4 separate regions of the Homo sapiens genome follow, and all the other regions are linked to region 3. Evidence: promoter capture Hi-C in 16 types of primary human blood cells and fetal thymus (Javierre and others, 2016). All regions are on one chromosome and are shown on one strand. Each heading gives the region's core, a stretch centred on a gene start or on the middle of the fragment in contact. The rest is flanking DNA. Distances are from core to core; before and after follow the strand shown. Region 1 overlaps PPP6R1 (protein phosphatase 6 regulatory subunit 1). Region 2 overlaps PPP6R1 (protein phosphatase 6 regulatory subunit 1). Region 3 holds the start of UBE2S (ubiquitin conjugating enzyme E2 S). Region 4 overlaps SYT5 (synaptotagmin 5).

Evidence for each region. Contacts are between HindIII fragments. The CHiCAGO score rates a contact against its expected background, and 5 or more counts as called.
Region 1: a contact is called between a fragment that was not itself captured here and the fragment with the promoter of UBE2S in region 3, in 13 of 17 cell types (non-activated CD4 T cells, M2 macrophages, naive CD4 T cells and 10 more). The highest score is 11.1, in non-activated CD4 T cells.
Region 2: a fragment that was not itself captured here is called in contact with the fragment with the promoter of UBE2S in region 3 in 17 of 17 cell types (naive CD4 T cells, non-activated CD4 T cells, fetal thymus and 14 more); the score reaches 15.2 in naive CD4 T cells.
Region 4: a contact is called between a fragment that was not itself captured here and the fragment with the promoter of UBE2S in region 3, in 16 of 17 cell types (erythroblasts, total CD4 T cells, naive CD4 T cells and 13 more). The highest score is 16.0, in erythroblasts.

The regions. Positions count from the first base shown.
Region 1 is chr19:55,232,960-55,238,478 of GRCh38, forward strand. PPP6R1 (protein phosphatase 6 regulatory subunit 1) reads right to left here. Exons shown (of 24, transcript NM_014931.4): 16 at 3,954-4,011; 17 at 3,684-3,862. Among named protein-coding and RNA genes, the nearest start is that of MIR6802, 4.3 kb to the right of the region's middle. The HindIII fragment of the contact is 3,764 bases long and covers 1-3,650 here.
Region 2 is chr19:55,251,916-55,257,236 of GRCh38, forward strand. The region is part of intron 1 of PPP6R1 (protein phosphatase 6 regulatory subunit 1); the gene reads right to left. Among named protein-coding and RNA genes, the nearest start is that of PPP6R1, 4.4 kb to the right of the region's middle. RefSeq lists enhancers at 1,703-1,782, 2,013-2,232, 2,243-2,352, 2,753-2,892, 3,193-3,242 and a silencer at 5,182-5,321. The HindIII fragment of the contact is 4,391 bases long and covers 1-3,481 here.
Region 3 is chr19:55,405,387-55,410,603 of GRCh38, forward strand. It overlaps UBE2S (ubiquitin conjugating enzyme E2 S), which reads right to left and starts at 2,402. Exons shown (of 4, transcript NM_014501.3): 1 at 2,201-2,402; 2 at 1,429-1,576. The coding sequence starts at 2,203. It overlaps LOC105372462 (a long non-coding RNA gene), which reads left to right and starts at 2,759. Exons shown (of 3, transcript XR_936075.3): 1 at 2,759-4,546; 2 at 4,825-4,931. RefSeq lists enhancers at 1,865-2,378, 2,735-3,029, 3,051-3,160 and silencers at 2,031-2,500, 2,511-2,570, 2,581-2,630. The HindIII fragment of the contact is 9,685 bases long and covers 1-5,217 here.
Region 4 is chr19:55,173,848-55,179,449 of GRCh38, forward strand. SYT5 (synaptotagmin 5) reads right to left here. Exons shown (of 9, transcript NM_003180.3): 2 at 5,116-5,239; 3 at 4,349-4,521; 4 at 2,158-2,277; 5 at 1,862-2,029; 6 at 1,325-1,492; 7 at 1,035-1,152; 8 at 670-803. The coding sequence starts at 5,194. Among named protein-coding and RNA genes, the nearest start is that of SYT5, 3.6 kb to the right of the region's middle. The HindIII fragment of the contact is 992 bases long and covers 1,142-2,133 here.

The DNA of each region.
Region 1 (5,519 bases), core at 519-3,018, 170 kb before region 3:
CTAGGCTCTGTGGTATAGCCTATTGTTCCTAGACTACCGACCTATACAGCATGTTACAGTACTGAATACTACAGGCAATTCTAACAATGGTAAATGTTTGTGTATCTAAACATAGGAAAAATACAGCAAAAATAGAGGATTATAATCTCACGGGACCACTGTCATATGTGGTCCATCGCTGACCCAAAGATGCAGTATGGGACTATATACTATGTCTAAAATGCTGACCCAATATTTTTGTCTTAACAGAGTAACTGACTACTTTAACTGGAAAGTAATATATCTGTATATAGTTAAAAGTAAACTAAAATACTCAACGACTAAGGAGTATAAAGGAAGCCCCTCAACCTAACATAAGGCATCTACAAAACCCCACAACTAACAGCATGCTTACATGGCAAAACGCTGAATGCTTCCCCCTAAGATCAGGAACAAAACAAGGATGCCTGTTCTTGCCACTTCTGTTCAACATTGTCCCGGAGGCTAGCCAGGGCAACCAGGCAAGAAAAGGAAATTAAAATCATCCAGATTTGAAAGGAAGGAAAATGAACTCTATTCACATGACATGATTCTGTACATAGAAAATCCTAAGGAGTCCACTAAAACTATCAGAACTCATACATTAGTTCAGCAAGGTTGCAGGATGAAAGATCAACATACAAAAACCTATTGTATTTTCATATACTTGTAACAATCTGAAAACAATTTCAAGAAAATTCCATTTACAATAGTAACAGAAAGAAGAAAACAGGAATAAACTTAAAAGAAATACAAAGCCTCATACTCTAAAACCTACGAAACATTGTTGAAAGAAATTTTAAGACCTATATAAAAAGACATCCATGTTCACGTATTAGAAGACGCAAGGTGGCTTCTTGGTTGAAATTGACAAGCTGATCCTAAAATTCATATGGAATCTCAAGAAATCCCAAATAGGGCAAAACAATCTTTAAAAAGAAGAACAAGGTTGGAAAACTAAAACCTCCCATTTTCTTTTTTCTGTGAGATGGAGTTTCGTTCTTGTCACCCAGACTGGAGTGCAATGAATGGTGCGATCTCAGCTCACTGCAACCTCTGCCTGCCAGGTTCAAGCGATATTCCTGCCTCAGCCTCCTGAGTAGCTGGGATTACAGGCACCCACCACAGCCGGCTAATTTTTGTATTTTTAGTAGAGATGGGGTTTCACCATGTTGGCCAGGCTGGTCTCAAACTCCTGACCTCAGGTGATCCATCCACCTTGGCCTCCCAAAGTGCTGGGATTACAGGTGTGAGCCACCGTGCCCAACAAACCTCCCATTTTCAAAACTTACTATAAAGCAACAGCAACCAGGCCAGTGTGGTACTGGATAAAAACAACACACAGACTGATAGAACAGAACAGAGAGGGAAGAAACAAACTCATACATATGGTCAAATATTTCCTTTTTACACAGGTGCCAAGATGATTCAGTGGAGAAAGGACAGTGTCTTCAACAACTGGTGCAGGGAAAACTGGTTATCTATATGTAAAGGGATGAAGGTGGACCACCTCACATCATATACAAAATTTAGCTCAAAATGAATGGAAAACCATAGAAATAATGCTATAAAACTCTTAGAAGAAAAGAGAGGGCTAAGTCAAGATGCTGGATTTGGCAGTGACACACTTGTGCACCAACAACACGTGCAAGGGTATTCACAGCGGCCGCACTCACAGCGGCTGCACTCACAGCAGCGAGCAACAGGAACCTGCCCAAAGGCCTGTCAACTGCAGAACAAGCAATTCAGCTGCAGCTCATCATGCATGGCACTGCCCCACTGCACGAGAGCCAGGGGCACCCAAACACACAACAGGGAAGGAGCTCACAAGCAGAGTGTTGAGCAACAGAGGTCAGACATAAAAGGAGATGCTGTATGCTATATCAAGTGAAAACAGAGACAAAACTCATCTACAGGGTTAGAAGCCAGGACAACTTTACCCTCAGAAGGGAGGATACTGGCTAACAGAGGGGATGTGGGTACTGGGAAGGTCCTGCTCCTGGGTCTGGGCACTGAGGAAGGATATCCATTGGCCACACACTCAGGATCTGTATGTACACTTGTCTATACGCATGTTACATGTCAATAAAAAGTGAAAACAGCCTAATTCCGAAATCAAAAGTCATGAGTCAAAAACTCAGTTGCAGATGATGACTTAGTGTTCAGGCTGTCAAATCTACATGGCATGAACCCATTTCATCACAGCGACTCTGGGGCCGGCCAGTATTAAGAGAAAAAAAAAAAACAATGTAACATTTGCACTAAAATGTCATCACAGCCTGATTGGAGAGGGACGTCATCATCTCTCATTTTACTGGAATTAGAGAAGAGAGAAGCTGCCTGGGACCATCTTACCCCCCTTTCTAGGAAAACGTGTGAGAGCTAACACGAGGAAGTGAAGTGAAGGGATGAAGGAAGGAGACAGGGAGGCGGGAAGAGAGAGACACACACAGACCAAGCCATACCTCAGGACCTGCCTATTTTTTCAGCCACAGAGATTATCCCTTTCTTTTCATAACTTAACTCATTTGAATTAGATTCCTTTTTTTTTTTTTTTCTGAGACAGAGTCTCGCTCTGTCGCCCAGGCTGGAGTACAGTGGCGCAATCTTGGCTCACTGCAAGCTCCGCCTTCCGGGTTCACGCCATTCTCCTGCCTCAGCCTCCCAAGTCGCTGGGACCACAGGTGCCCGCCACCACGCCCGGCAAATTTTTTGTATTTTTAGTAGAGACGGGGTTTCACCATGTTAGCCAGGATGGTCTTGATCTCCTGACCTCGTGATCCGCCCGCCTCAGCCTCCCAAAGTGCTGGGATTACAGGCGTGAGCCACCGTGCCCGGCTGATTTTTTTTAATTTGTTGATTCTTTTTTTTTTTTTTTTTTTTGAGACCAGGTCTCTGTCACCCAGACTGGAGTGCAGTGGTGCGATCTCAACTCACTGCAACCTCCGCCCCCCAGGGTAAAGCGATCCTTCCACCTCAGCCTCTCAAGTAGCTGGGACTACAGGCACACGTCACCACATCCAGGTAATTTTTGTAGAGACAGGGTTTCGCTATGTTGCCCAGGCTAGGTCTCAAACTCCTGAGCTCAAGCGATCCATCCACCTTGGCCTCCTCCCGAAGTACTGGGATTACAGGCTTGAGCCACTGTGCCCGGCTAATTTGTTGATTTCTTAATGCATCATCTACCTTTTTTTTTGAGACAAGTCTGGCTCTGTTGCCCAGACTGGAGTGCAGTGGTATGATCTCGGCTCACTGCAACCTCTGCCTCCCTGGCTCAAGCCATCCTCCCACCTCAACCTCCCGAGTAGCCAGGACTACAGGTGCACACCACCATGCCCATCTAACTTTTGTATTTTTTGTAGAGACAGGATCTCCCTATGTTGCCCAGGGCTGGTCTCAAACTCCTGAGCTCAAGCAATCCATCTGCCCTGGCCTCCCAAAGTACTGGGATTACAGGCACTCAGGGATTACATGAGCCCACCATGCTTGGCCTTGAATTAGATTTCTATCACTCAAAAGTGAAAGTGCCCCCAACTAATACACACACCAATGCAGGTTCCTTATTTTCTTCATTCACTTCAGCCTCAGTCCAAATGTGTTGGGGGGACCCCTTGGCCCTGCCGTGTGGTGGAAGCTTGGAGAAGGGAAACTGGAGGGGGACTCACCGGACACCAGGTGGCTGGCCCAGACGGGCCCCCCTGGCCAGCTGGCTGCCCTGCCAGGCGCCATCTTCTCCATCAGACTCCCCTGAGCCCTGGGCCTCTTCCTCGTCCTCCTCTTCCTCATCATCATCAAACTGCTGGATGCGGTCCTTGTAGCATATCTCAAGTAGGTTGGCGTTGGGCTGCAGGGCACAGGGGTGGGAGGATGGGCCACACTGCCCACAGCCCCACACCCCTCCACCCGCCACAACCAGGGGACAGGGCAGTACTCACGTTCTCATCGTCAGCATTGAGGGAGAAGGTGATGTTGGCTGTCTTGTCAAAAGGTGCGCTAGGAGAGAAGGCAAGGCATGGTGAGAAGGTCCACCTGGGGGTGGGGGCAGCACAGGACAGGCCACATTTCTTTCTTCACTCAACACAGAGCTGACCCTCATTACTTGCAGATTTGGTATCTGCAAATTCACACACAACCCGAACCACTGGTCCTAAGGGGCAACGCATACATGAATATCAACATCTCACATATGATCACTTTAAATCCTTAAAACCACTCATTGAGGTAGGCTGTTTCCCTTGGCTCTAGAAGTGAGAAAATGGGGCTCGGAAATGTTAAGCGACTCTCCTCAGGCTCTTCCAAGGACAGGTGCCAGAGAGGGATTCAGATCCATGCCCTTGTCCCCATCCTTGGGGCATCTGTAGGAGGCTGACACTCACACCAGCCAGGCACAAGCAGAATGTGAGACTACAGCCCAATAAAGCACATCCCCTAACCTCAAGATGTCTACGGTCCGCGGCTGAAATTCTAAATTATGGGAAAAAGAATCACGTCAAAACTTAAACTGTGCCTGCCAGGGCCCCACCTCCCTCACCACGAGGGTCTAATGATCAGGGTCCACATTCTGTCCCACGTGTTACGGACAGTTCAAGGGATCATTTGTCTCAAATTCATGAAAAATTCTGCCACAAAGATCAATGGATAAAGGACAGTTAATTCTTAAAGGACACTAAGTATGTGACAGACATTACTCACGCACTTCATTCTCACAACCACCTTCCAAGGCAAGTGTCCTTAGTCCCTCCTAGACACTGAGAAGCAGCGGAGCAGAGACCACGCTGGGCACACAGTGGGTCTAGGGCAGGGCAGCCCATGTCCCCGTGGCACTGGCAGCCTCAGCTGACCTGGCTTCTGCTACAGGAGCTATGCGGGGCAGCATCTTCAGCCTTGAGATGATCAAACCAGTCATCCACTTTCCATTCCGGAAATCTTTCTGGGTTTAGTTTTGTTCACTTAACTTCTTAACCCCTCTGGAATTTTCTTGGTAGAGGAAAAGCTAACAGTTTCATCCCGAAAGGGGCAGCTGGTGACCCCAATGCCATCTACCAGTCAGTCCCTTCATTCTCCTGCCAGGGTGGGGTTTTCTTCTTTTTTTTTTTAATTAAAAAAGCAGAGATGGTCTCACAATGTTGCCCAGGCTGGGCTGAAATTCCTGAACTCAAGCGATCCTCCTGCCTCGGCCTCCCTAAGTGCTGGGATTAAGATGTGAGCCACTGTGTCCAGCCCAGTTTTCACTTGAGCATCTTCTCCAGGGGTCTCGGCACAGGCCACTGACCCACAAAGACCAACGCTCTGCAAGTCTCCATGCTGGGCACAGAAGCAGCCAACACAGGATATCACGTCTGCATCTGAGAGGACCTCTGTCCAGCTGTGGACTAAGCCAGGAACAGCTGACTATCCCTCATCGTGGTGTCCCTTACGCTGTGCTGTACAGGGACCCCGGGGCAGCCATGGGCAGCCATCCAGCTCCCACACACTAACCAGCTATGTCCTGGGGCCTCAGT
Region 2 (5,321 bases), core at 36-2,535, 150 kb before region 3:
AGCACCGAGACGTGGCAAGCACACACACACAGCCTCTTTCTCCGTGGGAGACCAAGCAGGCTGATAGGCTGCCCATGCCATGCCAGCAAAGCCAGTCCCAAGGAACCACACACTGCAGGCCTCCAACTATGTGAAGCATCCAGAACAGGCAAATCCATAGAGACAGAAAAGAGCTTACAGGCTTCCAGGAGCTGGCGGGGATTGGGCGAAGTTCCTGAAAGGAAAGGGTGATTAAAAAAAAGTTCCAAAATCAATTGTGGTGATGTTTCCACAACGTTGTGAATACACTAAGAACCACTGAATTGTACCCTTTATTTATTATTTTTTTTCTTGAGACAGAGTCTCTCTCTGTCACCCAGCCTGGAGTGCAGTGGCGCGATCTCGGCTCACCGCAACCTCCAGCTCCTGGGTTCAAGCATATCTCCTGCCTCAGCCTCCCGAGTAGTGGGGACTACAGGTGCGCACCACCATTCTTGGCTGATTTTTTTTTTTTTTTTTTTTGAGACAGAGTTTCGCTCTGTCACCCAGGCTGGAGTGCAGCGGCGCGATCTCGGCTCACTGCAATCTCCGCCTCCCGGTTTTAAGCAATTCTCCCACCTCAGCCTGAGTACCTGGGATTACAGGAGTGCGCCACCACACCCAGCTAATTTTTGTGTGTGTTTTTTTAGTAAAGACGGGGTTTCACCATATTGGCCAGGCTGGTCTCGAACTACTGACCTTGTGATCCGCCTGCCTGGGCCTCCCAAAGCACTGGGATTACAGGCATGAATCACCACGCCCGGCCTAATTTTTGCATTTTTTTAGTACAGACGGGGTTTCACCACGTTGGCCAGGCTGGTCTTGAATGCCTGACCTCAAGTGATCTGCCTGCCTCGGCCTCCCAAAGTGCTGGGCTTACAGGCGTGAGCCACTGCGCCTGGCTGTACACTCTAAATGGATGAACTGTACAGAATATCTCAATAAAAACTGTTGGGGGAAAAAAAAAAACCTGCCTCAGGCCATCGGCCATGGCAGGGACAGAGCCAGGGCCAGGCTCAGGCCTTGCACTATGTCCCAGCGTCCGCAGAGCTGATGAGATGCCGGCCAGCCTGGCAGAGCTGAAGCTGCCAAGGCTCAGCCCTGGGGCACTCACCCAGGTTACCCCTTCCCCATCCCTCACCACCAACAGCTCTAAGCTAAGTGAGCCCCTCCACAGTGGGGACGGGATAGGAGCAGCACCAAGCCAGCATCTGTAGAAAATCCATGGACCCGCACTTGCAGAGACACTTGTCTCGGCTCCACATCAAGACCAAGTAAAGAATTCTTATTATTCCGACAGAGTCTCATGTGGAAGAGGGGCCCAGAGGGGTGGAGCCACATGGCTAGCAAGAGGCTTCCAGTGTGCCCTGGTCTCTAAACAACAGGCAGAAATTCTCACACTGAGGCCCACCGTTCACTTCTAAGATACCTGATTAAAGGGCACAGGCATGGCCCTCGGCCCCCAAACCCCCTACCCCTGGTACAGACTAACCATCTGCTTCGGGGAAAAGGTCAGGCTTCCCCTCCAAACCGAGCTCCCCAGACAACTGGGGCAGGGGCAGCCAGAATGAGACGGGAGGGTGCTCGCTGGTGCACGGCATCCAAGAACTTCGGCCCTGAGAACCCAGGCAGCGCCCTGAACTCTCCATCTCAAGTGGCTCCTCTGAAAATCAGAATAGACTGAAAGGCTCAAATGCAATTGAGTGGTCGACACTCTACAGACCTCAATTATCAGGCTCTAAACAGAATGAAGATGCAAATATGGAAGAACAGAAAAAAAGAGAAAAAAACTTTCCCCCACCACAACCTCTGAATGCACTATGGCCTGAAGCCCTCTCAGTCCCCTCTCCCAACCTAATGAAGCCTGCTAGAATCCCTGCGAATGGAGCAGGAGAGTGGGTTTCACTCGCACTCTCCTGGTGAACCTGGGCAGGCGCTTGATTTCTCTGAGTCTCATTTCCTCATCCGTGAAAAGGAGACACAGCCCACCAGGGCGGGCTGCTGTGAAAAGGCATTGAGCTAAAGCAGGTGGCCGTGACACAGCAGGAGCTCAGCAGGTGCAAGTCTCTTCCGGTCCAACCCTGAGGCCACGTCCAGATGCTTTCTGGCAGGACAGGTAGGGGACCGGTCACTACCCCAAAGGTGATGGTGCTAAACACAGAGGAGCAGGAGAAAGACTCTACCCATTTGCCTAAGTGACTCAAGTACTTTTCCTCAGACCATTCGGATACTACGGCAGGCGCCATGCACCCCGCCACCCCCATTCTTTGCAACTTTTAGCAACTTCAAGAAAGCGGAAGTGACTACCACTAGTTTTTAGCTACCGTTTGAAAACCATGAGTCTGGCTGCAAACGGAAGAAGGGGAAATTGTAAATGAGAAAGGAAGCCATTAAAAACGAAAACTACCTCTGCCGCTCTCCCTCCACCAGCTCTGCACTATTGCCTCTGGTTTCTGACTTAGCTGTGGTGTTTTAGGGCCTTCAACACCAGCCACCCCTCAAGGGCCTGCCAGCCCCTTCCTTCCCCTGCTTGGACAGGCACTAACTGCGGCTCCCACAGAGCCATCCCCACTGCTGCACGTATCCGCCCAAGCACAGCTCTGCCGCCAGGGAACCGGTGGGCCCATGCTTCATCTGTCACCCCTTCCCAACCTGCGCTGACCCACGAGCACCCAGAAATGGAGGTCATGGGCACAGATGCCTCAGGGGGCCTCCAGAAACAGCTGCCTGAGCTGTCCCAATGCTCAGCAGAAGCTCCAACGCCTGGCCCCCTGGCCGGTACCCTAGGAAGGGAAAGAGCCTGCTACCAGCAGCAGGCTGGCCAGCACCCAGCTCCTTAAAGGGCCCAGAGTCCGGAGGACAGCAAGACCATCTCCCTCTAATGTCCCCCAAGCCTCTGTCAGCTCTCAGCCAAATCTGAAAGGGGGCTGGGAACACCCAATTCCAGGGATGCAGTGACAGTAATGGCAACCCCACCACCTCTGGGCAGGACCTACGGTGTGTGCCGGCTGCAGAATCCGGCATCACCCACCCAGCAAGGAGGAACCAGGGACACCAATTTGATAGAAAGGGCCACTGGGGCCAGAGGAGAAGGGGGAGCGGCCCAAGGCCCAACAAGATGATGAGCTAGGGCTTTCCTGTGGCTTGGGAAAGCCTTGGGGAGGGTCCCCACTTAAAGAGAACCCTCAGTGCCTCCCCCTCTGGCCCCAGAAGCACACCCTCCCAAGGGAGCTAGCAGCCCTGGTCCAACCCCAGAGGATGGAATAACTAGGAAACAGAAGAGTCTAGAAACACTGGCCAAGGACTGGGACGGGGACTTGAACATCCACATTCAAATCGTCTCCTGAACTGGCCACAGGTTTAAAGGAAAGAAAGGAAAAGACCAATGAACGGATTTGAAATAGCTCTTTGGAAAAACAGAAAGGGGCAGAGTTAGGGTTACAGTGTGATCCAAAGTCAGAAAAGCTTGCATTCCCATTTGACCTCCCCAAACTGAAATCTCTGTGGCCTAGACCAAGGATCTCACCCCACCGAGCCCCAGTTTCCTTATCCGGGAAATACCTCACAGATGGGGTTACTATAAGGCAGCACTCTCTGGAGAAGGACCCACAAAACTGGTGTGCAAAGGGAAAACCACGGTTTGGCATGGAAAGGCAGGTGAGCCCCATCAAGCCGGGTGCCGAGTGATTCCCACTCTGGCAAGGCCCCTCACTCTCACCAAAGCTCTCAGGCCTCTCTCACCTCATCTCTTGCTACCTCCCGCGTGGGCGTCACACCTGACTGCCCTCAGCCGGGGCTGGGCTGCTCCCTCCTCCTTCCCGGAGCTCTTCGAGTCTGACTAGCTCCTCCTGGGTCCTTCAGGCCCCCACACAGACACCACTTCCTCCAGGGAGCCTCCCCCCCGCATCTGTGTTAGAGGCCTGCTCCACGCCGCTTCCACAGCATCCCGCAGTCACCCTGGAACAGCATGTGAGCCTCGGCTCTGTGACAGGATGTACCTGTTCAGTCATCTGCCTCCCCCTGAAACATGCCGACTTCCCAGGATCTAGCATAAGGCCAGGCCCAACTAAAGCTACTTGTTGAATTAATGAAAACTGAAGCCAGAGAAAGGTGTTCTGTTAAGAGCACTGGGCCACACATCCCACAAAAGAAAAAAAATGGGCAGGGGGACCAGACAAGCAGGTTCTCCTCTAATGGAAAGAAACAGTAGATGAACCAACAAAAGCTAATGGCCACAAAGATGGTGGTGACTCGCAATACACAACTCACCAACTCACAGCTCATGAGTCACAACAGAGCAAATAAGCCACAACGACACACCATACCCCAGCAGTGGAGCAAAGTTCTCCTCCTCTGCGCTGCTAACATTTGGGCTGGACGGTTCTTTTCGGTGTTGGGGCTGCCCATGCACTGGAGGACACTTAGCAACATCCCTAGCCTCCACCTCCACTCACCAGATACTGGCAGCATTCCCCCCAGTTGTAACAACCAAAAACATCTCCAGATATCGCCAATCGTCCCCCAGGGGACACAATCGCCCCCAGTTGAGAGCCACTGCAATGGACATTCCCAAATCAAATAATAATCGAAAGAACGGCCAGGTGTGGTGGTCCATGCCTATAATCCCAGCTCTCTGGGAGGCTAGGTAGGAGGACTGCTTGAACCCACGAGTTTGAAATCAGCCTGGGCACCACAGCAGGGCACCAGAGCAAGACCCAGTCTTTACAAAAAATACAAACATTAGCCAAGCGTGGTACAAAAACACAAAAATTGAGCAAGCATTGCAGGACGTGCCTGTAGTCCTAGCTACTTAGGAGGCTAAGGTGGGAAAATCACTTGAGTCCAGGAGTTCAAGGCTGGGCAAACGAGCAAAACCCAGTCTCAAAATCATCAACATCAAAACAGCTACTGATTGCAGAGTGTCATGTGCCTTGCATTCTGCCACAGGCTTCTACAAACCCTGCACTTAATCCCTAGATCCACCCTCTGAGGAGAGCAGTCTGCTATCCCCACTTACAGACGAGGAACAACTTGTCCAAGGTCTCGCTTGGCAGAAGCCGGACTCGGCCTAGGTCTGTCTGGCAAAAGATCCTCTAACAATTAGCTGGACTGCCTTCTCATGATCCCAATCCCAGAACTAGAGTTAAAAAAAAAAAAAAAAAAAAAGCATAACATTTTCAACAGCACAAGCAGCTCCAACAGCCATCCCACCACTAGTAAGCACACGTGGCCGGGCGCCGTGTCTCCATGTGTGTTGTGCATGTATGTAAACCAAGTCCTCATCCTGTGTTATCCAGGCAATC
Region 3 (5,217 bases), core at 1,152-3,651:
TAATCCCAGCTACTTGGGAGGCTGAGGCAGGAGAACTGCTTGAACCCAGGAGGCAGAGGTTGCAGTGAGCAGAGATTGTGCTATTGCACTCCAGCCTAGGCGACAGAGCAAGACTCCGTTTAGAGAGAGAAAAAAAAAAGAGCAAGAATGGCTGGGTTCCTAGGGGGCCACAGGACCTCCCCCAAAACCTCAGAGATGATGCCCATCTTGCAGCCCCCACCTGTGTCACTATCAAGCTCGTCTGCACCCTCCTGGATCCCCCGTCTCAGCCCAACTGACCACTCCAGTCACAGGCCCTTCCCAGGTGGCAGGGACCCAAGTACGCACTTTCCTATAAGATGCCCATTTATATGCCTTTCAGATCAAGGATCCAACTGTCTGTTAATTCCACAGCCTCCCAACCCAGTGAACGCCTCTCCCACTCACCCACTTGCTTGGGTCAAAATACTGTCCCTCCCCTAGCCCATCAGCAGCCTGAGCACCGGCCTGCTAGGTCCTCCCCTGAATCTCATCCCATCTCCAAGGCTAGCTTCCTGGCTGGCCTCTGGGTTCTTCCCCCTGCCAGGCCGGCTCTCCTCACTACAGTCAATAGGAACTTTGGAGGGATTTGTCACACCCCTGCTTTAAACCTTCCACCAGCTTCCTCTACAAACTCCTTGAAGAGGCCTAGAAGCCCTAAAAGAGCTTGGCAGCTTCATCATCAACTTTCTTCATGTGTTTTTACCAAGCGCCCAGCTCCACCTGCCCAAGGGCCTTTCTGGAGCCTTCCTATTGTCATGATCCCGCGCCCTCTGCAGCAAGGCATGAAGGACCTCAACTGTCACCGCTGCCAGGTCTTTCCTGACCACCTACCACCATCACCACCGTGGACTAGACCATTCCTTCACAGGCTCTGCTCAAATCCTGACTTTGTAGGAATTCTGGTGATAACAGAAATGTAGCCTGCATGAAACAGTATTCTAAATCACTCCGCAAATCATGTGACCCGCAAATCATTCATGACCCGTCTCCCCACGATCTGCATCTGGCTTGTTTCCTCATCCCTGACACTCACAGCAGGATGGAGTTTGAGATCACCTGGCCCACCCTCCCAGGCCCTTGCTGACACCATTCCCACCACCTGGAGCTCTCTTCCCATTCCTACTTAATTCCTACCCACCCTCAGGTCCAGGGAAGCCATGTCTGAAAGCCTTGCTTCAAATCTAGAGTACCGTCCCATGATATACTAACTCAATGACCAGATATTTCTCAACCCTTGTGGGAAAAGAGTACATAATTGTCATTTGTGGCGTCCTGCCCTGTCCACCAATGCATCCCAACACCTGACACGAGGCCAGCCTGTAATGGGTACTTCCCGCTAGGGTGATCTAGAGCAGGGTGATGGAGGATCTAAGCAGCAGCCCCTTCTCTTTTTCCTTCCAAACTCACCAGGGCCCTCGATGGTGACCTGGAGGTCGGTGAGGTCCTCCTCGTTGGGAAAGACCTTGATGCCATCGGGTGGGTCTGCGGTCAGTGTCGTCACCTCCTTGTACACCAGGCGGATGATGTGCGGGGGTAGGTTCTCCACGTTGGAGTTCTGGGCACGGATGGGAGAGCAGGGTGAGCGAGTGTTAAGAGCTGGGCTTCCCGCAGGGCCTAAAGATGCTGAGACTGCCCAAGTCTTGACTCAGTGGCCCCAGGCTGTCAATCACCCTTGAACTCCCAGACCCTCACCCAGGATGCTTCAGGCCATCAGCCCAGGCAGAGTTTCCAACAGAAATGGGGGCGGGTTCACGGGGGGGCTTGCAGATAACTCCACCCACCCCAGAACCCCCCCCCCAAAGCCCGCTCCTAACCCTGCTTGGTCCCCAGTGGTTCCACGTAGGCCAGAGATCTACTCTCTCCCCCTTCTCCACTAATTTTTGGTTAGAGCATCCTTGAAACCCCGGCTCAGGTCTGGAGATGGCGGCGGGGCGTCCTTGCTCCTGGTAACACCCATGGGCGGGCCGCAAAGCGCCCGGAGCCCTCGCCGCCAGGGAGACTGCGGGCCGCCCGAGCTCCTGCTCCGCCTGCGGGAAGGCCCTCGGGCCCATCCCGGGTCAGGGACCCCCAGGCTGGCCCTCAAACCCCTCAAGGCCGCCCGTCGGAGGCCCCTGAGACTCCACCTCCTCCCTCAGGGACACCCCCGACCACCTTCATGGGCCTCATCGCCCGTGCTCACCATGGCTGCGGCCGGCCGGGGGCGGGTCCCCCCGGCCCCCTTCCTGCGTTCTTCGGTCCGCCGGCCGGGGCGGGGGGCCCAACTGCTGCCGCTGCGGCCCTGGAGAGGCCCCGGCGGCCCCGCTCCGCTCCCCGCTGCCTCCGACGTCCGCCGCGCACAGCGTAGACCAACCCGCCGCCCCGGTGCCCGGCAGCACTGAGCCGGCCGCGCGCGCACCACTGCCTCTTTATAACCGCCCGCAGGCCACGCCCTCCGCGGCCCCTCAGCTCCGAGCCTCAACCGTGACGTCAGCGCGCACGTTCCTTGGTTTTCGACGCGCTCGCTCCCTTCCCCGCAAACTATGGTCAGAAGCGAGGGAAGTGGCGGAGAGGGCTGGGTAGCGGGCCGGCCAATGGGGGCCCGCGGGGGTCGGGAGGGTTCTCAAAGAACGGAGGGGCTGAAAAGGGGAAGAAGAGAGGAAGGGGGACGGGGAAGGCGACGCGGCCGCTGATTGGACCGTTTGAATGAGACGCCGCCACGGCCCGGCATACGCGCGGGCGCGCCCTGACGCTGAGGAAGTCGCGCACGCGACTAACGGTCTTCCTGGGGGCCGGAGCGTGGCGAGGGGAGGCGGGACTCGGGGTTTTAAACGCGTGATGGAAGGCGCTCGGGCCAATAGGGATGCGCTTTAGTGACTGGTGGGTCACGAGACTCGCATGGGCCAATGACTGATAGAGACCGGTCAGAGGGCGACCCAGTTTCGTGCAGATCAAACCGCTGCCAGCCAACGAAATCCGTTGATTTTTGTATATGCAAATGAAGTGTGCGCTGCCGCCCGCGCCCCCTCCTTTGAGCCGTGGTGGAGGTGGGCGCTGGAACTCCGACTACATTTTTCTATGAGGCGCCATTTTGTGCTGGAAATGCTCTTGGACCCACGTCCTGTATTGCTAAGGCTCAAAGATCAGTCAGAATGACCTTGAAGGCTTGGACAGCCTTGCACTCCGTGTGTGACCCCCACTCCTGCCAGGCTTCATCGAAGACGCCAGCCTCAGTTTCCTTATGTGACAAATGGGCACTGGGATCCGTTGTATTGCCAGGGAAAGAAGTCAGAGAGTGCCAAGACGGTTATTCACGGCATGGTTATGCCTATGACTGACCCATGGCCTCCAGCCACACCCGCCTTCTCTGGGACTCAGTTTCCCTCTCTAGGAAATGGACACATAGCTGCCTGGAAAAGGGACCATCTCCAGCCCTCAGTGTCAGTAAAAACGTCAGGCAATTGCTTGAGAACGGTGGCCAGAGCTCCCTGAGCAGGCCTTTTGGAGGGGCTTAGAGAGGAGGAGGGAATGCTGAAGTTGGCCTTCCTTTGCTCATCTGTGCAGTGCGGTCGCAGTGCCCTCTCGGTGTCTCTGCCAGTCTGTGCGTCCACAGCTCTTCTTAGTTTCTTGGCCTTTTTCAGCCATGGATGAGAGCATTAACATCTGGGCCTAATTTGGCCACAGGTACCTGAAAAGACCCCTGGCTACCAGCTTCCCCTCATGGGGCCTCAGCTTCTGAAGAAGGAATAAGGAAGGTGTGAAAGAAATCTACATGGCCAAGGCCAGGCGTGGTAGCTCACGCCTGTAATCCCAGCACTTTGGGAGGCTGAAGCTGGCAGATCACCTGAGGTCAGGAGTTTGAGACCAGCCTGGCCAACATGGTGAAACCCCATCTGTACTAAAAATACAAAAATTAGCCAGGTGTGTTGATGCAGCCCTGTAATCCCAGCTACTCGTGAGGCTGAGATGGGAGAATCGGTTAAAGCCGGGATGTGGAGGTTGCAGTGAACTGAGATCTCGCCACTGCACCCCAGCCTGGGCAACAGAGCAAGACCCTGTCTCAAAAAACAAAAAAGCAAAAAAAAAAAAAAAACCAAAAAACAAAACCTACATGGTCGGGTACAGTGACTACGCCCATAATCCCAGCACTTTGGGAGGCCAAGGTAGGTCGATCACTTGAGCCCAGGAGTTCAAGACCAGCCTGGGCAACATAGTGAGAGACCCCCACCAATATGTACAAAACAAACAAACCCAAAACAACTGAAGAAACAGCTACAGCATAAAAAGTCATCATCATAACTAGTTTGTGGAGAAATGGCTTCAGGTGATCCCTTCCTGCTCCCTCACCCCAGGTCCAATCTATACCAGTTCCTGTTGACGTCATCTACTGAATCTCATCACGTCCCCCCATCCGCTATGCCACCAGTCCTGCTTAGAGTCAACGTCATCCCATTTTGCCGATAAGCATTTTGCTGATCTTCAATTTTAGCCTGCTGGGTGTGGAGGATTCCAACCCAATTAACAGACAAGGAAGCTGAAGGAGCAGGAGGTAAAGTGACTTGCTCGGGGTTCCCCAGCTGGGACAAGGCAAAGCTAGTGGCTAAATTCGTCTTGATCTTAAAAATCCACCCAAAAGACATAACAATAATGATGATAATACTAATGGTTATTATGTATTATTTGCTGTGTGCCAGACCCTGTTCTAGTTTCTTTACATGCTTGATGTCATTTAATCCTTGTAACAACCATAATGGGTGGATATTATTAATTATTATGATCCCCTCTGGATACCTGCATTTATTCAATACATTTGTTCTTCTTTATTAGTGTCTACACTCTAGCTGTCAGGATGCTATGGGATACAGCAGAGAATAAAAGGGACAAAGCCTCGACTTTCATGGATCTTACATCCTGGTGCGGGAGCCAGATAGCAAGTAAGTCTATACCATCATGTCAGCAAGTGATAAAGACTGAAGAACAATCAGCAAGTGATAAAGACAGGAACAATTAGTGGGAGGGGGAGGTTTGAGAGGGAGGGATGGGGCTGCCATTTTACCTTGGCTGGGCAGGGAGAATCTGTCTGAGGAAAGGTCATTTGGGCTGTTGGAAGGTCTATGGGAAAAGCATTTTGAGCAAAGGGAACAGCAGGTGTCAAGAAGATTGTGCTTGGTGCTTTTAGGGAACATTAGGAGGCCAGCGAGGCTGGATTGGAGTGAGGCA
Region 4 (5,602 bases), core at 388-2,887, 230 kb before region 3:
GCCTGCGGCGAGGAGGAGGCTCTGGCGCCTTTCTTCCTGCGCAGCCAGGTTTCTAAGGAAATGAACCCTCAGGACTCGGTTGCGGAGCGGGTGTGTTCGGCGCCTCCTGGGGGAGCAGCCTCCTAAGAGCCGCAAAGCTGCAGAACTTTAACAGGGGCCGGGCTAGGGTAGGCGCCGTCCCTAAAGAAGTGAGGGGAGGTCTCTTTTTCTTAGAACCACGTTCCTGAGGAGGGCGGGGCATCCTGGTCCTGCTTAGGGTGGGGAATCTGGTCCCGCTTAGGAGTGGGGCATCCTGGTCCCGCTTGGGGGCGGGGCATCCTGGTCCTGCTTGGGGGCGGGGCATCCTGGTCCTGCTTGGGGGCGGAGCATCCTGGTTCCGCTTGGTGGGGCGGGGCATACTGATCCTGCTTAGGGTGGAGCATCTGGTACTGCTTAGGGGTGGGACATCCCGGTCCCGCTTAGAGCAGATAGGACACCCACACCCAATTTTAAGGAGTCTCTTCCTGGAGTGGAAGAGGCTTCCTGGTCCTCATAGGAGGAAACAGACTGAGAGCATAACCTCAGACCCCCTCACCTGGTTTCTAGGGAGATGCTAAAAAGTCTCCCTCCGCCTAGCAATGGCGATTACTAAAGGTCTGGGCTCTTGGAGAAGGGCAGGTTTGAGCTCACCTGGACTTGGTCACAGGGCACCTCGAAGCTGAAAGCTTCGTTGTAATAGGGGTTCAGAGTGTTCTTCTTGATGGTGGTTTTCTTCTTCCGCACCTTTTTGCCGCCCTGCAGCAGGTGGACCTTGACGTATGGATCTGGGGAGAGGAAGGAGGAGTCTTATAGCTCCCCACTGCTGGGTTGTTGGACCAACATAGAAACACTGCCTACACCCTTCGGGTCTCCCTAGCTCTATGCCAAAATCCATGCCTTCCACAGCAGCCAGGTCCTCCCTGTCCCCGAAGAAACCCTCGAGGCTCAGAAACTGTCAGAACGAGAACCCACCCCACGCCATCCCCACACACCCCACTCCCTTGCTTCCCACACACCTGACAGTCCTCCTACGTCCATCTTCTTCAGGTTTTTAGCCTCCAGGACGATGACGGTGAGCTTCCCGGCCGTGGGGACATAGCGGAGGGAGAAGCAGATGTCCCCAAGCTTCTCCTGCTGAAAGGAGAGGGGCCCATCACCAGAGCCCCGGCTCCACATCCATGCCTCCTCAGGGGTACAATCCACGCCGCCCTGAGGGTCTGGAAAGCCTATGATCTGATTGGCTCAGGATGTTGTGGGCGGGACTGGGCCTGGGGGCGTGGCTCGGGGCGCGACCGCGCATGCTCACCTCCTCCCGCGGAGCCGCCTGCAGCTCCCGCCAGGCCTGCACTGGCCGCCCCAGGTCCACGGAGCTCATAGGGACCCGCACCTCCCCGATGGCGTCATTGCGAGAGAAGCGGTCGAAGTCGTACACCGCCATGACCAGCACCCTGCCCCCCAGCTCCACGTAGGGGACCTGGAGTGCACAGAGAATCCGCAGTAGAGAGCAGGAAGTCAGAGATAGGGTGAGGCACAGCACAACCAGAAGGAAGGCATGGAGTGAGGCAGCGAGGGTCGAAGCGAACAGTTGGGGGAACTCAAATGGGAAAGTCCAGGGATCCATGCGGAAAAAAATCACGGGTCAGTGGAACCCAAATCGTACCGCCCAAGGACCAGGCTACAGCCCAGGAGTCAGTAGTGCCCAGGGTCCAGTGGAATAGCCCCAGAGCTGGTAGCTGCCACCTGAGCTGTGGCCGCCTCCAGGAAAAGCGGAAGGGGTCGGTCCCTAGTGTTCCAGGGACTGGGCACAGGCTATGGAACACGGGGCCTGAAGGCAGGAGCTCACCTTGAAGGCGAAGGTCTCCCCAAAGTGAGGGTTCAGCGTCTGCCGATGCACCTTGGTCTCGTACCGCCTCCGTTTGTCCGGCAGCAGGTAGACCCGCACATAGGGGTCCGAGGAGCCACCAAGATCCAAGGCTGCCAATCCCATTGCTTGCAGAATGCCCACCAGCAGCTGCAGGGCCCAGGCACAGTGGGGGAGGTGGGGAACACTAGTCTTAGCCTCCCTTCCATGGCTCCTTTCAGAAGGGGTTGGAACCCCCGGGATCCTCCCTCCAAAGCTTCCCCTTCCTCCACACCCACCTGGCCACTCTGGAAGTCATAATCCAGGGAGTACTGCAGTCGTCCTAGCTCATGCTTGTCTGCCACCTGCTGCCCTGGCCCGGATGGTGCTGGCTCCAGCTCCTCTACTTCTGGCTGCACCTTAAGGAGCCAGGGGTAAGGGTGGGTGAAGTCTTCCCCTGATAGCAGTATCCATCAGGCTCAGAAGCCAAGGGAGGCTCACAGGTCCCTTGGGCTATACCTGAGCTCTCACAGGCTAAGCAGATTCAGTATTTGACTAGTGCTGTCTGCCACAGGCAGGAAATAGACGTGGTAACACAGATGCAGTATGTTTGTGAAGGTTTGATTAGTGGTGTCTGCTATGGGCAGGAACTAGACATGTGCTTGTCATGCTTAGATTAAAACAAGTGCTGATAGTGTCCCATTGCCCACAGGAATAATGCAGGTTTTATTTCACATGCTAATGGATGTACTGGGGTGCTAGTCCAAACTGCCATGTTTACTTGTGATCTTAGCACAGCAAAACATGGAGGAGAAATGGCATATTTACTGTGTACTTGCCATTCTAAAGTTGAATGAAAAAGCAGAAGGTGTCTCCTTAACCTAGGCCAGCAATTCTTAAAATTCAATGTGAACCTGAATTCCCCTGAATCCTGTGGCAAAATGTCTGAGGTCACCTCTTCAGGGATTCTGACTTGATAGGTCAGGTGCTAGTGCCAGAATTTGCATTTCAACAAGTACCCAGTGTGATTCTGCTGCAGACGGTCTTTGAACATCACTGGTTTAAGGGACAGGGATGGGGCTGGACACCAGGACCCTAAATAGCATCCTTTACGGATGCTAATTGAACAGCTCCTTATTGAGAAGGAAGGAGGGGAAATACCAAGTTAGTGACCACAGACTTGAGGCTCAGAGAGGGACAGTGAGTTCTCCAAGGTCACACAACCAGGAAATGGTCCTTCTTGGTTGGAAACCTAGGGCTGTCTGGCTCCCAGGCAACCACTGCACTCTGCACTGAGAGACTTAATTTTCAGACCCTGCAGTGACCACTTTCCATTCCAACGGCCTCATCCAATGCAAATGTCTTTTATCCTCTCCAGGCTGCTGCTGCACTGGCCTCGTCCCTGGATCCCTCGCCGCAGATCTGTCCTACACAGGGTTCCAGAGGAGTCATCCTAACACCATCTGACCCTGTCCCTCTCATGCTCAAAACATATTTGTAGCCTTCATCACCTTCATGACATGGATACTGCTGAGTTCTCCAGACACTTCACTCCAGAGTGCAGCTATTGTGAGAAATGACTCTTTGTTCCCCAAATAAGCCTCAGAATCTGGATATGGGGCCTGAATCTGGATATGGGGCCTCAACACATGCTCCAACTTGGACTAGAATGTCCTTCTCTCTGGTCTCAGTTAACTCTGTCCCTCAGGTCTCAGTGCAGAAGTCACCTCCACCACGAAGCCTCCTCTGTCTGACCCTCTGTTTTAAACTTTTTCCTACTGTAAATATGTCCCATTTTCTGAAAAAAATCAGCATATTTTAAAGTATTCTGGCACAAAGCTGGTTTTCAGCTTTCAGAGCCATTTATTTATTTATCTATTTATTGGAGACAGAGTCTCGCTCTGTCACCCAGGCTGGAGTGCAGTGGCGCGATCACAGCTCACTGCAGCCTCCACCTCCCGGTTTCAGTGCCTCAGCCTCTCGAGTAGCTGGGATTATACCACACCACCATGGCTGGCTTTTGTATTTTTAGTAGAGACAGGGTTTCATCATGTTGCCCAGGCTAGTCTTGAATTCATGACCTCAGGCAATCTGTCCACCTCAGCCTCCCAAGTGCTAGGATTACAGGCGTGAGCCACCGCACCCGGCCCAGAGCCAAATATTTATATGTTTCTGTAGGTTTCTATACAGTGGGATGCCTTTTCTGTGCTCCTATGAGACCCTGTAGTATGGCACATATTACCCTGTGTGGTGAGTGTCTGTGTCAGTGCCTGACTCTCCCACCAGACTGGGAAGTTCTTGGGAATAGCAACTAGTTCTGTTCCATCTCTGGGTCCCCAGAGTCCAGTTGAGGGCTAGACACACAGGGAGGATGAGCCAGTAAGGTGGGTTCCTATAGGACAGAAGGGAGCAGGGACTGGGACCAGCTGGGCCATTGAGAGGAGCAGGGTGCGGGAAGGGGCCAGGTGGAGGGGCTGGGCTGGGCCACACCTTGTCTATGTAACTCTGGCCCAGCCCCTTCACTTCCTGAAGGTGGACCTGGGCTTGGGCCTGGCTCTTCTTGCCTGTCCGCCTCCGACAGCTCTTCCGGTAGAGACAGAAACAGCAGCTGAAGATGAGGAGGCCTGAGACCAGCACGATGGTGGCCAGGGCCCAGGGGGGCACTGCAGAGGGGTGGAGACAACACACATTGAGGCCTGGGCAGCACGCAGGCTGATTCAGTCCTGATTACACGTGGAAGCTGGAATGCTGGCCTCCTTTTCCCTCCAGCCATTTTCATTGCATTTCTTCCTGTGTTTTTCTTCCACCTAATGTGGCCTATAGAGAGATTCGATGCCCCAACCCAGGCTGACACCATCTGGATTTGCTTGCTTGTTAGTTCTGCCTTTCCTTACCCGACCCCGCCCCCCATTTCTGCTCAACTCCTGATGCTTTTACAAGAAGCCCTGCTCCTCATCGGGCCTGTTTCCTTATCTGTAAAAGAAGAGCTAGGTGGACCTTCCAATTCTAAGATCCCATTCCATGCAACACCCCTTGATCCGGTTTCGATTTTTTTTTTTTTTTTTTTTTTTTTTTTTTTGCAAATCTGTTCCTTCCTTTTACCCCATTTCGTTCGCATTCCAGTCCAGGATGACGACCCGGGATCCCAGCCGGATTTTCCAGCCCGCCTGCCCGAGTACACCCGTCCGAATCCCGCCCCTCGGAATCCTGGCCAGGCTTTCTCTCTGCTCGGCCCCCCACCCCCGGGTCTTGCTCACCTGGGCCGTGGCTGATGCGACTGGAGTCGGGAGGCGTGTCGGGCGATGGAGGCCCCGGGGTTGGGGGCTCCGGGAACATGGTGGCGGGGTCCTGGAGTCTTTTCTGCAGAGACACTCAAGCACCCTAGTCCCCCATTCCCACCCCAGACGTCCTTTGAGCCCCACGCACAACAAAGAACTCCAACTCCCATGAGGCCTTTGCGCGAACAGCCGCGCAGAAACCGGACAGCCACCGCGAGTCATGCTGGGAGTTGTAGTATCAGCCTCCCCGCACTTGAGAGGGGGTGTCCAGGACCTAGTTCCATCCTAAAGGGATACCCTCTTCCTCCACGGCCCCACAGGCATCCCGCTGACTTCTGCCTCGTCCTCGCCCCTCCGCAGGGTCTGAACCGGAAGCGGGCGAAGGCAGACGTGGGAACCAGCAGACCGCGTTGCCCAGAGCAACAGCCGGGCTCCTCTCAAGCGGGGTGAGAGCAAAGCTGGTTGC